Regions from separate parts of the Homo sapiens genome. Here region 1 is linked to region 2. Evidence: promoter capture Hi-C in 16 types of primary human blood cells and fetal thymus (Javierre and others, 2016). All regions are on one chromosome and are shown on one strand. The core of a region is centred on a gene start or on the middle of the fragment in contact, and the rest is flanking DNA. Distances in the headings are between cores, read along the strand shown.

The links. Contacts are between HindIII fragments. The CHiCAGO score rates a contact against its expected background, and 5 or more counts as called.
Region 1: a contact is called between a fragment that was not itself captured here and the fragment with the promoter of RFESD in region 2, in 1 of 17 cell types (erythroblasts). The highest score is 6.2, in erythroblasts.

Annotation. Positions count from the first base shown.
Region 1 is chr5:96,742,145-96,748,211 of GRCh38, reverse strand. CAST (calpastatin) reads right to left here. Exons shown (of 32, transcript NM_001750.7): 16 at 5,456-5,557; 17 at 1,787-1,870; 18 at 820-867. Among named protein-coding and RNA genes, the nearest start is that of ERAP1, 63 kb to the left of the region's middle. The HindIII fragment of the contact is 382 bases long and covers 4,525-4,906 here.
Region 2 is chr5:95,640,739-95,648,239 of GRCh38, reverse strand. RFESD (Rieske Fe-S domain containing) reads right to left here and starts at 1,463. Exons shown (of 6, transcript NM_001131066.2): 1 at 1,423-1,463. The HindIII fragment of the contact is 4,150 bases long and covers 1,154-5,303 here.

The DNA of each region.
Region 1 (6,067 bases), core at 3,466-5,965, 1.1 Mb before region 2:
TCTGTATAATTTTTTTAAATGTGATTATTATTTTCCTATTTCCTCATGACTTCTCTTCTGAATAAGTCAAAACACGGATGATATACTCCGTTTCTATGATTATGCAGGATTTTGGCAGCAAAGTTCTGCTACCCCTTGTTCTTTCAGGAGAGTGGTATTAGTTTAGGGCATGTGGAGATTGTCACTAACAACAGTAACATGATAGAAGGGCATGTGATTCAGACGCTGGGACTCAGACCAGACAGCCTGAGTTCTAAGTCCTGGGCTTGGCTTGCTATTTTATAGCCCCTTGACCTTGGGCTATTTACATAGGCCCTCTGTGTCTCAATTTCCTCACTGTAAAATGGGAATAATAACAGTACCGTCCTCATTCATTGAGGACTCACAAAGATAATATCCAAAAAGCATTTGGTGCAGTGCCAGGTGCATAGCAAGCGATTAATAAATGTTGCTGATTGTATGTGACAGGTTACTACCAACTTAAGGCAAAATAGAATCATTAGAGAATTTGATCAGGATGGAACTCTAAGTGCTAGCTTAATCTGACTTAAGGGCCCTCTTGACATCAGTTTCTAGTGTGCAATAAATTTTACCTAGAAATTTATAGTCTAGTAATGATTTATGAGGAAGATCATCTTTAAAATATATGGAAAGGAGCTACAGGTATCAGCCAAGTGTTACCATCAGAAGTTCCCCTTTCCTCTGTACTAGGTTAGCATGCAAGTCTGCACAGTGAATTCCAGACTGTCAAAATTATCTTAATTCATACTTTACATGTCTATTGTTCTTTAAGTATCAGAAAAAAATGTATTTCCTAACCTTGGGTTTTTCTTCAGGCTCTGGCAATAGTGGTTTTCCATCTTTATCCTGTAAATGAAATTAAAATTCATTGGAAATGAAATAGAAAATTTTGCTTTCATGTCCCATCAAGTTTGTTTCTGGGAATTCCAGGATATGAAATGTCAGCTAATTTTTTTCTTAGATTTACATGAGTTTGTGTTTCAGATTTACTTTTTATAAAGTATAAAAAAAGGAGTTGAGCTATAAAAATCGAGATGTTACCAAGCAGAATGCACATTTACTTTAAGTTATTAAAAATGTTTTTAATCTGTTGGGTAGAGTAATAGGAAAAAAAAGTTCTTTGGCAATAAAGATGTAGCTATGTTAATCGAAGCTTTTAAAAAACCCCAATTCTCCAACCTAGAGTGAAGAGGTGGATATCATTCCTATAACACTGTTTAGTTTTTTTGGATATGAGGTTTCATAACTTAGAATTGTAACTATATTCCAACATGTGTTTATATGCATGATTTCAAAAGTAAATGACAAATGTAATGACAGGAGTTAGTCTACCATCCTCACCATAATCAAAAACAACAGCAACAAAACCACCTTCACTTAGGATACTGGTAAACCCTCGTGCATTCATATCTACCCCTCAGAAGACCTATGGTGCTTTTATCCATATAGCAGTTAGAAAAGAAATTATCCCCAAATTGTTCCTTCTGAGTTTTGGGATCTATTGTAAGAACTGTTAATAAACGAAACATTTAAATCTGTGGGAATTTAAATGAACACATGGTCACTACTTAGGAAGCCAGGCAGGGACAAACCATCCCTCAAGGGGTCTAACTGTAGGGAGCAGAGAAAAAAAGGTTCAGGGTTTTCAGAGTTAATATCTGAATGGGGGACAGACATGTCCTTTGACAATGTCAAGGGTACAGATACAACAAAACAAGATGCAAAGGCAAGATGCTGTTGTCATGCACTGTGGCTAAAAATTTACCGTGGCTGGTTTTAATCTGTACTCAGATGGGATTGTTTCATCATCCTCACCACACTTCTCTAGTTTTTCTTCTTTAGCTTTTGCCTGATGAAAATGGAGGGGAAAAAAAAAGTAGTTGGATAATGCACATAATGAGATGATATCACTTCCTCTGTGTACTTCTCGAGTGTTATAGAGAAGACCAAATCTGGTAAAAGCATCTGGAAGAGCCTTGTAAACTACAAAGCACAAGACGATGGTGGGCAGCTGTGAGAAAGGGAGCAGTGGGTGACTGAGCAAAAGTAGCCCAGCCAGGGATCCTGGGCAACTGCCCTGTTCTGCTCCCAGCTGCTGTGACCTTGGGAAGCCACTTAGCCTTTATTTGGTCCAGTTTCTTCAGCTGTAAAATGTGGCTACTAATAACCCTTATCTAGCTCACTGACTTGTGAAGATCACCAGAGAAAAGTAAATAAAAGATCCTTTGAAGACAGTAAGCACAGTGCAGCAGTTAGTTGCAATTATTTTAATGGCCTTCATCTGTCTTACTCAACGAGGCAGCTGTCTAAGGAAGGGAGAGGAAACACGACTAATTTTCACATTAAACCCAGTTCAGATATGGGAGAAGCGGCCCATCACAAATCTTGGCTGATCCATGGATAACTTGTTTTACCTCTTTTAAAAGGACTCTCTTCAATAATGCCAGGACTTCTCTAGCTTACTGAACCATGAACAACTAGCTGCATTACAAATAAAAGCATAGTTCTATAGTAGATCACTGACTGCTAGGACACAACACTTGCAATTTAACCTGCTGGTGGGTAGTGTGAAGTTCCATAATATGTAAGAATTTGTACCTATATAAAGGTGTGGATTTAATTTACTAACCAAGGTAGGAGGTTCACTTGGCATATTCCAACCCAACCCACGGCCCCCATCTGCATCTTAGCCTAAGAGTGTGGTTCTTAAACAATTGTAATTAGTAACATTTAAACAGGATACGCACAATAATAGAGAAAGTCAGCTGGTCATGTTTTACAGGAAATATAAAAAACAAAACAAATGAAAACATTTAAACATTAAATGTAACTAAACCCACTGATTGGTTAGTTGATTAATTACTACTTATTGAGCACTTTTAATGGACCAGGCACTGTTCTATGCTTTGGGATTAGTTTCACTGTTTTATAGAGAAGCTCTCATTAAAGGATGAAGTCATGGTTTTCTTTTAAACATTTCCAGTCACGCTCTATTTCGGCATCTGGAGAAATCCTGTCATGGAGCAGCACTCCCCAGGTCAAGGCACAGCGGCCTTCATGAACATCCAGGGTCACCTGTATTAAGACGGTCCTCCCCACTAATCTCAGGCTGTGGACAGTGAAAGTTACACATGCGGCCAGAGCTTTTATTTTCCTCTTTGATCTTTATAGTCTTGAAATGCCTGCTCTGGTTTGTATACAGTAGGCATCGAAAAAAAAGAGCCTACTGAATTGAAATGGCACTAGACTAGGCAGCCACACCTAAAAATGTGGGAGACTTATAATGGGCTATCATTAGAGAATAAAAAACTTTTATTTTATGTTATGGTAGATGATGGGAATACCAAGTAGGCATGGGTTTCCTCTCTGGAGTATTGTGTGGTTTTCCACAGATAGCTCTCTATTCTGGGGTATGCTGGGGTGGCAGTGGACACTCCTACAGGCTGACAGTGACCTTCCTGAGCCTTCTCATCACATCAGACTATCTAGGATGTAAAGGACCCACTAAGTCGGGTACTAAGAATTCAGGTTAATAATCTAGAGGACTGAAAGATCCTCTTTAGAAACATTCATACTTTGTATATGATTAAAAAGGAAAACTAGTGATATGCTTTGGCTGTGTCCCCACCCAAATCTCATCTTGAATTGTAGCTCCCATAATTCCCACGTGTCGTGGGAGGGACCCAGTGGGAGGTAATTGAATCATGGGGGCGGAGCTCTCCTGTACTGTTCTCATGATAGTGAATAATTCTCACTAGATCTGATGGTTTTATAAAGGGGAGTTCCCCTGCACATGCTCTTTTACTTTCCTCCATGTAAGACGTGACTTTGCTCCTCATTCACTTTCCACCGTAATTATGAGGCCTCCCTAGCCATGAGGAACTGTGAGTCAATTAAACTTCTTTCCTTTATACATTACCCAGTCTCTGGTATGTCTTTATTAGCAGCATGAGAACAGACTAATACAACTATTATGTCATAAGAGTGGAAAAGAGGAGTTCTTTTTGCTGGAATTTTAGTTTGCTGCGACTCTGAAGTTTTCTAGAGGGAACTTAATACATTCATATGCATTCCCAAACTAGTTACCCACATGTTTAAATAACTTATTTTATGTCACTTTTTTTCTTAACATCTGCTTATCTGCTTTTAGTCACTTTTAAGACTCCTTTGATCCTGAGGTTTATGACATGTTTATACCCTCCCTTCCCACATTAATTGTCTCTCCTTAAGTGTCTGTAAGAAGCTTGGGGCAGAAGTGCAATATACTTGTGGCCCTGTCGCCCTCAGGTGGTAAAGCCACAACTCAGCTTGGCCTCCTGACTCCCCCCAGGATTCTGCCAACACCCCGCTTTCCTCAAGATGACACTGCTTCTGTCGGCTACTCTAAGTAATGTATATCTCACATTGTGTTGTAATCAAGTTTCCCTTCTTCCCAATACATTACTTGGTCCTGGAAGATACGAACTGCTTCTCTTGCTCCTCTGCGTTCACCGTCACAAAGCTTATCGTGCCACACTGTGGCCGGTGAGCCCTCCAAGAAAGTCGAAGATAGAAACTGGCCCATCTTAGGCCAGGGCAGTCCCAGACTCAAGGATTGTTGCTGGAAGTCAGGGAGACTCCCCTTCCCTGATGACTCAGAACAGGAAGTGACAGCAGAGATGGGGCATTGTGACAGCAATGCCTGCCAGCACCCCCAGCCTGAGCTGATGGAGGTGGGGCGGGCTCCTGGGGATCCCAGGCTACCTTTCCATCTCCCCACAACACTGCCTTGTCAGGAACCGGCAACTCTCTCCTTTCCTTCCTCTTTCACCCCAGAGGACTGAGTTGAAAAATTCCACAAAAATTATAATTTAATATTAAAACTTTCGTACACCAGATGTAAGCTTGTTTTGGTTCAGAAGGCTTGTTAAGATCTTGGAGTGTGGCGGGATAAACACTCATCAGCATTATTCTATAAATATGCAGGAGCTCTAGTTAGGGTAATTGTTGCTTGATTTTAATTTGAGACAAAATTTTCAACATCTTTCCCCATAGTGATAAATGAAGGATCTTCCCACTCCGTGTATAGACATCTCCTTCTCTTATAAACAGAAGCACCCAGAACCCTTCTGAAAATACAAATTTCCAATTGCCAAACTTCACTATTTCCCACCAGGCATTGCCTCCTTGTTACCTTGTTTAGTCAAGGGTCATTTAAGCTCTAGCAAGGGAGATTCGTGTTCATTTCAAATGTTAAAATTCTAGCTGTTTCACAAGTCAGTCATGTAACTATCCCCCTTAGTTGCTAACCACTCAGCAATAAATAAGGCACAATGAAGAATGCTCACTTTTACTCTCCAATAAAAGTTGTGCGAGAATTCTAAACATGCAGAGTGCATTCGGTTTTGTAATGTGCAGACTAACAAGCTTTGTAAATCAACTCTAAGGTCAGTACCTCATCGACTTCCTTAATTGAGCGGAGGTCGAGCTCAGGTTCTGCTTGCCGGGTGCCCAGTGAAGCCGACAGAGCCTCGAGTGCTTGATCACTCATTGTATCCTGTTAAAAGTAAAAAATCCTGTGCATGAAAAAAGACATCTCTGGAGCCCGAACAATCCATTTACTTCTTTGTAAAATACATTTTAGATTATAAACTGAATATGGATTGGGGAAGTGCTCTAGAAAGGCAATTTTATTTGAAACCTTGCAAAAGAGAGAAAGGAAAAAGAACTTACCAATGAGTGGAAATTGGGGCTAAGACACGTTTCTACAGTAACAGCGTTCTCTGGGGCACACTTCACCCCTTATTTGGTAAGCTAGACATAAAGCTATAGTAATATTACTATAAAATACTCTAAACAAACAAAAAAAAAAGAAGCAAGTAGTAAACTGTTACCACACTATTTTTCTTTTTCTAAAAATGTATCTCTAAAAAGGCTTCTGACAACCTAAGCTTAGGAAGCAGGGAAGCTTGAAGTGGCCCCTGCTGCCTTCTTCTCTGAAGGCACAATGGCTGATCGTTGTAGGAACTCCCACTCTCAGGGGTGTGGTACTCACCACTGTTCCCCA
Region 2 (7,501 bases), core at 214-2,713:
AACTCCATATAAAATTACAAATTAGCTAAATGGATACTCGGTCACTATTAGATTCCTTTCCAACAAAGGAAATAAATTCAAGTGGAATTTAAAAAAATATTTAGTGTAACTCAAATTTCCACAAGACACGGGAGATAAAAGAAACATGAAGTGAAACGTACTTACTTGTCACTCGTCTTGAACCATGACTAAGATGCTTTTACCAAGTGTGGAAACTTTGCCTACACATTATCAGAATGCTTATCTCAAGTATGACACCCTTGCTTTTACATGCAGGGAAGAGAAATGCCTTAGAGAGTAGTTTTGGTATCTCTCTGAATGGCAGAATAATAACAGATAAAACTAGCTGTCCTTTAGTAAATGCCTACTGCTTGGACCCTTTGAATATAATAGTTCATTAGTCTTCACAAAACCGCCAACGGGTAGGCATTAGTTTTATTCAGGTAGCACCCACGTTTTTATAAAAACATGAGGCTTGCAAGTAAACTATCCTGAAGACACAGAAACCTTTTAGCAAAGCAAATATGTATATTGGTGATATATATAGTATTGATATTTATATTTGTCACCAAAGATGGTCCTGAATTAAAAAAAAAAAGGAACGCTAATGTGCAACAGCTATGTTCACGAATGTTTACAATTGAACGCTTGCCCAATAATTTTATATAAAGTCACAGAGCTGCTCTGGAAATCAGCACCATCGTATGATGTTGAATTGTGATCACGAGTGAGCTAGACCTGGGTTTGCATCCCAGTTCTGCGTGATTTGGGGCAAGTTGCTTAACTTCGCTGTGCTGCAGTTTCTTTTACTTTAAGAAGGGCCCGCCACATAGGGGTGTGGGTAAAGCACATAAATGCTTTAACACATGTCAAATGTTTAGAGCAGGCCTAACCGCAGAAAACGCTCACAGCGCGTTAGCTGGCACCTCTAAGGTCCATCCAGCTCTGGCAGTTATCCTGCCTAACTTCAAGTTGTGTTTAACATTTCGGTAAAGACCGCCTGCAGTTCTGAGACTGCACGTGGCTGTCCAGGTGCTGCAAATTCTCGACACAGACTCCAGGAGGCGAGTATCTCCAGGACGGCCGGGGCTGCGGAAGCCCTGGAGCAGCTTCTATACTTTAGAGCTTTCATGGCACAAATGCCATGAAAGCTTGTTAAAAACGACCCGCGTACCCCCCTTAGGTGGCAGGTCTCAGGTGTGGCCCAAGTTTCAAGGTGAACAAGCTCGGTGAGTCTCCTGTGCCTGGGCGGAAGCCCGCCTTGGCGGGTTAACCGTTAACTAACGCTGAACCAAAACCCAAGAGGGCCTCAGGCCCCGCAGCGGCGCGGCCACAGCCGGAATGAGGAGTCCACGCCCGCAGCCCAGCCGGAAGCAGCTGGTCCCGCCAGCCCGCCCCCTGCGCGGCGAGAACAGAACTTACTGTCCCCGAGTCCTCGCTCCGCCTCCGCGTGACGCTACTGCACGAGCCAGAGCTCCAGACGTGCGCGGCGCCTCGACGGGGGCGGGGCGAGGCCGTCCACGTGACCCAAGAAGGCCCGCCCCCGGGACCGCCTCTATGGCATTGCCGGCAGATGACCCTGGTTGATAGAGATCTCTGGCCAACAGCGCCGCGCCAGCACCTTCAAACTGGCAGGCATACTCGTGTACTTGACAAATGTGGATAGCATCAGTTTACTTTTTAGTTGTTTGTTGATCTCATTACATTTATTCAAATTTTAGATGCGCCCAGCGACTTCATTCAGTTATTTACCCTATAAAAATATTTGCAGAAGGTCGTCGCGATGCTGGTAACCCATGTATAAGGATGTTAAGGCCGGGCGCGGTGGTTCACGCCTGTAATCCCAGTACTTTGGGAGGCCGAGGCGGGCGAATCACCTGAGGTCGGGAGTTTGAGACCAGCCTGACCAACATGGAGAAACCCCATCTCTACTAAAAATACAAAATTAGCCGGGCGTGGTGGCCCAGGCCTGTAATCGCAGGTACTCAGGAGGCTGAGGCAGGAGAATCGCTTTGAATCCAGGAGGCAGAGGTTGCGGTGAGCCGAGATCGCGCCGTTGCACTCCAGCCTGGACAACACGAGCGAAACTCCATCTCAAAAAAAAAAAAAATGTTTATTGCTGTGAAGTAGTGAAAATAGCTGAAGTGATAACACGGAGGAATGGTTCAATAAAACACAGCACAACAGTACAGACATGTGAATTACTTCGTAGCTGTGTACTGTATACTCAAAGGACAGGCCCATCATGTAATGAATATTAAAGGCAAAGCGTAGAATACTATATATGGTGTCCTCTCTTTAATGTAAACAATTATTTTTTGAAATACAAACATGCAGGTATGTACATAAACTTTTTCTCGAAAAATCAAAAGAAACAATAGTGGTTGCTTTGGGAGGAGATGGAGAGTTTTCACTTTCATATTATGAACTTTGCAATTTTGCTTTTTTCTCATTGTACTTCCCTGAATTGACAACAACAACAACAAAGAAAACCACCAAAACCCTCATATTTGTGTTCCGAGCTGGGAAACTAGATGAGCCTAAGTTTTTAATTTCCTTGACTACTTTCCAGTGCAGTGATTCTTAACCCTGGCTATGCCTTAGAGTCGCTTGGGAGTTTTGAAAAGTCGTAATGCCCAGTCTGTATGCCAGACCAACAAAATAAAACACAGATTATTTGGGGTGGGAAGGGAGTGGGCAGATTCAATGTATGTTTTTAACTTCCTGAGTGATTCCAGTGTGAACCCAAGGTTGAACACTACAACTTGTATTTAGTATGGTGACATAGTGATCTCAGGCTCTAGGGTGGCCCAATGAACTGGGGCAGCCGAAACCCAGGAACTTTGTCCATTTACCTCAGTGTGCTATATAAATGCCATTTTTTAAATGAGCCTCAACATGTAAGAAGTTGAATAGCTCAGAATAATTTGTTTCCAGTGCTAGTTTCTTCTGTTTTTTTTCTCTTCAATACAGTTTTATGGTGATCAATAATATTTTATTGGGTCATTTCCCTTTTGGCCATTTTTTTCACTGACCCAAACACAAATTAACTATCTAGTTTTGATGTATCAGTTATCAAAGATATAAAATATATTTTGATTTATTGTAATTTCCATTATCTGTTAGTCATCCCAAATGATTTTATTGGCACATGGAAGGTGTTAGTAGTCCCCAGCTTGTCATCGAAGGATTAAATAAGGTTTGCCATTTTAGAAATCCTTTTTTGCTTTGTCATATTCTGGGCATTAAAAAAGGACACATCTTAGATCCATCGACCTTAAATTTGATATTGAATAAACTGAAGACCTCAGTAGTTATACATGCATATACACACAAGTAGGATGAAAGAAGAGAAACTTTCTTTTATCTCTACCAAAAGTATTCATATGGTTAGTCATGTGATGTTTGGAAAGCTATAATGGAGGTCAGAATAAACTACCCTTCTCCACTTCCCAAGTGCACACACACACAAATGCACAAAACCATTCACACACAGGCATGCACATTAGGTAACAGCAAGAACCCATCCAGTCTATTTGGAAGTCATTATTGTTCAGAATAAAGTTCATAATTTCTACTGTTATTTTGCCTTTTTTTTTTCTTTAATAGAACAATGTTAGCAATGCTACCACTAAGTTTCACCTGTGGCCATCTTAGGGCAGGTACTACCTTTTCTTTCCTTCCTTCATTTGTTCTTTTAGCCTTTCCTTTTCCGCGCTTCTAACTTTGGCCTATTAGTGACACCTAGTGGTTCCTGTGGCCAGCTTTCCCCCTGATTTTGGCTCTCAATATCTTCATGTGTGGTTTCAACTGAAAGTTGTGAGCCTAGTCCCTCTGCCGTGAGCATCAGGCTGTTTCTAGGCAGACTTTTCAGGCACCAAGACTCCCCTCTTAGAGAAGTTAAAAACTTGCCTTCAATCCTAAGCCACAATCTGTCTTGACTGCTAGTGAAGGCACCTGTGTGCTGCTAGTTTCACTACAGGGAAGTTTGAAGGGTGTCCACCAATCTGGATTTCCTACTCCTTCACACCAGAAAAGGGTGATAATACTGCCCTTACTAGGCCCTGGAACTCAGATTACATGACAGTGAGTGTGGCTCTAAATACCACCTATGTGCTTATGACTCCTAAATGAATGTCTCCAGACATACGTTTGTTGGGGATGCCTACTTGACATTTCTATGGGGCTATTGTGGCAGAAACAGTGGTGTTCACCAGATATCCCATCAACTACCCCACATTTTCCAGCTCCACTTACAGTTTTTTGCGGCCACATGGCCAGTTTTGAACAATGGGCTGTAGACTGAAGCATAGAAAAGCTGAGATGAGACTTCTCCAGTTGCCTCTTTCTCTGTCATAAGAATTAACAACATTCTGGATGGTGGAGCCTCCACCAGCCTGGGTCCCTGAGTGACTATGCAGAACAGAGACTACATCTCCCCACCAATTTCCTAACTTCCACTAGGCCGTGAAAGTCACATAACTTAAGTGAGAAATAAATTTTTATTATGTTAAGGCCCCTGGAATTTTAAGGTTGTTTTTTATTATAACATACAATAGTTTAACCTGATAATTCATAGCTATCTCTAATTTCATTGTGTTCAAAATCGAAATACTAGTTCTCTCCCATAAATCTGCATTTCTTTGTCTTCTCCATCTCTATAAGTGACAACACTGTCCATCTTCAGGCTTAAGGGAGAAATCTGCATGTCTTCCTTGACTCTTCCCTTTTCCTTGTCGCACCCCTTCCTGCCCGTCTGTAGAGAAAGGAGTTCGCATAGCTGACCTGAGACTGCTATCCTTAAAAAGGTCTGCTTGTAAGGTTGGCCCTTCGCTGACATGTGAGAACTTGGCAGGTAAACAGTCCCTTACTGTCGTGCCAAAGCCCTATTAACCTCAGTAGGAAAGGAACCAGGTTCAAGAGGCCGAAGAAGAGACCTAGAGCCAGCAAACAAAACATGGTGTTTTATTAGGTGCTTACAGAGTCCAGTGGTGGTGGGATGGGCAGGAAAACTGCAACCGCCTGCAACCATCATGCAGTTTATATGGTATTTTCACTTTATACCCTCCCCCTAACAATCTCCACCTGGCAACCTTCATGTATCCCAAAATTCAGGGCCTCAGTCCCCTATATTAGATGTTTCTCATAGATAAAGAATGACTCTTCAGGTTAGCTACTCCCAGATTCCCTAGCTCAGAACATACATTCAGGTGCATCTGCCATATGGGGTCATTCTGAGGGTATGCATAAATTATTACTATCAGGTGAGTTTATCCGACACCTACACCTACACATACAAAGCTTTCCCTAAATAATAAAAGTGATTCCCTGTGCGTAAGCTATTTGTACAAACAATGCACTTGCTTTTCCTTCTGAGATTCTAGAACTTGGTACCTGCTAGGCAGAGGTGCCTGTGACCAATGTCCAGTAAAAACTCTGGCTGCTGAGGCTCAGTCTTTCCCTGGCAAAAACATTGCAGGCATGTTTCTACATTTTCATTTCTGGAGGAAGAATGCAGTCTGTGTGACCCCTCGCGAAAGGGAGAACACTTAGGAATCCTGCACACGAAGTCTTCCATGCTCTGCCTGAGTCTTTTTCTTTACAATCCAGCTGTGTATCCTTACTACGTTTCTGTAATAGCGTAACTGTAATGAGTCCCAGAATCTAGTGAATCTCCAAATGTGAAGGGGGTCTTAGGGACCCTTGATATCCCCCCATATCTAATCCAGCACTGAGTCCTGCCAATTCTTCCTAAAATTTATCTGAAATCACACCGCTTCTTACCTTATCTGCTATCACCACCCTGAAGGTACCATCATCTTTTATTTGTGTTGGACTTTGAGAGGGCCCAATAACACCTTTCTTTTATTTTCTGCCTGAGTTTGGAACCAGTTGAGAGACACAGAAAGAGATCAAGGTGTGAGCTTTATTTAATTATGAACGTCTCAATTGGGGTGGCTTAAACATGCAGCCAAAGGGACTAACAGCCTCCTGAATTAAACTTATGTATCAAAACTCTCTTAAAACTGTCCTCTCTAGCGGACAGACTAGATTGTACCCTCTCTACAGGTACACAAATCTGTAGAAAGAAGAAAGGAGCTAAGCTGAGCATACCAGGAGAAGTGAGTGAAGGTTGGAGATTTGACTAGCTGAAACACTTCTTGTTCACTGCTGATTTTTATCTTCCTGGTGGGACTCCAAGTCCTGAGCATTAAGCAAATGATACACAGCTGACGTAAGTGGGGGTGTGGAGAAGAGAGTCTGATCAGCAAATACCACCGAACCTACATTGAGCCTGAAGCAAAACACTGGCCATTTGTACCAAGCCAGGCTTAGCAAATACACACAACAGAGCTATGTGGGCCCAGCAAAGGCAAACCCCAGAGAGCTTTAGGTGACGTGGGCCTCGGGTGCAAGCTGCTGCTCCTTGACCTTCAACAACATTCAGAACATATTCATTCTGCTACACTGAGTGTTAGCAGAGATAGGGAGGCCACAAAGACCTAAGAAAGCAGGTATAACTAAGACAAGGTCTAAATTATGTCTTTAAGGACTTTGGCCTTTCAGACAGTAGTGGGTAGAGTCAGGTTTGCTGCAGTTAGAGGTAGTGATATTGATGAAACTGAAGCTTCAGGTTCCCATATTTGCATGGGGCCTTCCAAGATCCTGAGGTCCTGAGGGACACTAGTAATGTGTTCACATGGTCATATGCTCTCGCCCTCTCACCCCTACCCCTCACATATATAATTATATATAATTTGGTAACAAACACAAAAATACAGAAAAATACAGGGAAACTCTATTCCCAAACGCCCATTTGAGAGTATAGTACCAATCTGATGCCCCGTCAGTCCCTAATGCTTTAGTATGTATTTTCTCCAAATCTGGACATTCTTCTACATAACCACAATACAACCATCCAAATCAGGAAGTTAACACTGACACACTACCATCTAATCCTCAAATTCAGTTCAGAATCAAGATTGTATGTTTAGTTTTCATGTCTCTAGCTTTCTTCAGTCTGAGATATCTCCTTAGTCTTTCTTTAACATTTATGATATTTGCATTTTTGAAGATTACAGGCCATTCATTTTGTAGAATATCCCTCAGTTTGAGTTCATCTGATGTTTCCTCCTGATTAGATTCAGGTAATGAAGGCACATCACAGAGACTGGACTTTGAGCCTCTGTAGGCTGCCCCTTGATTCCCTTCCCACTGGGCTTGAGCTGGCCGTGCTATGTCACTACACCATGTTGCCATCTATCCCACTAGGGCTCTGACACTCCTCTGTGAGCCACCTTGGTCACTCCTCCTTCTCATCCCCCTAGCCAGCATGTGTGTCTTCCCCGCTCTGTCCCACCTACTGGCTTTAGGACTGAATTGTTCAGAAAGGAGAAAGAAGACAGGGAGGAATAATGATAATAATGTTTTTGTAAAATGTGTAAAAGCAAAGTAATTTAACTTCTGTGGATCAAGGCCATTGTTTTTCTTCTGTCACTCA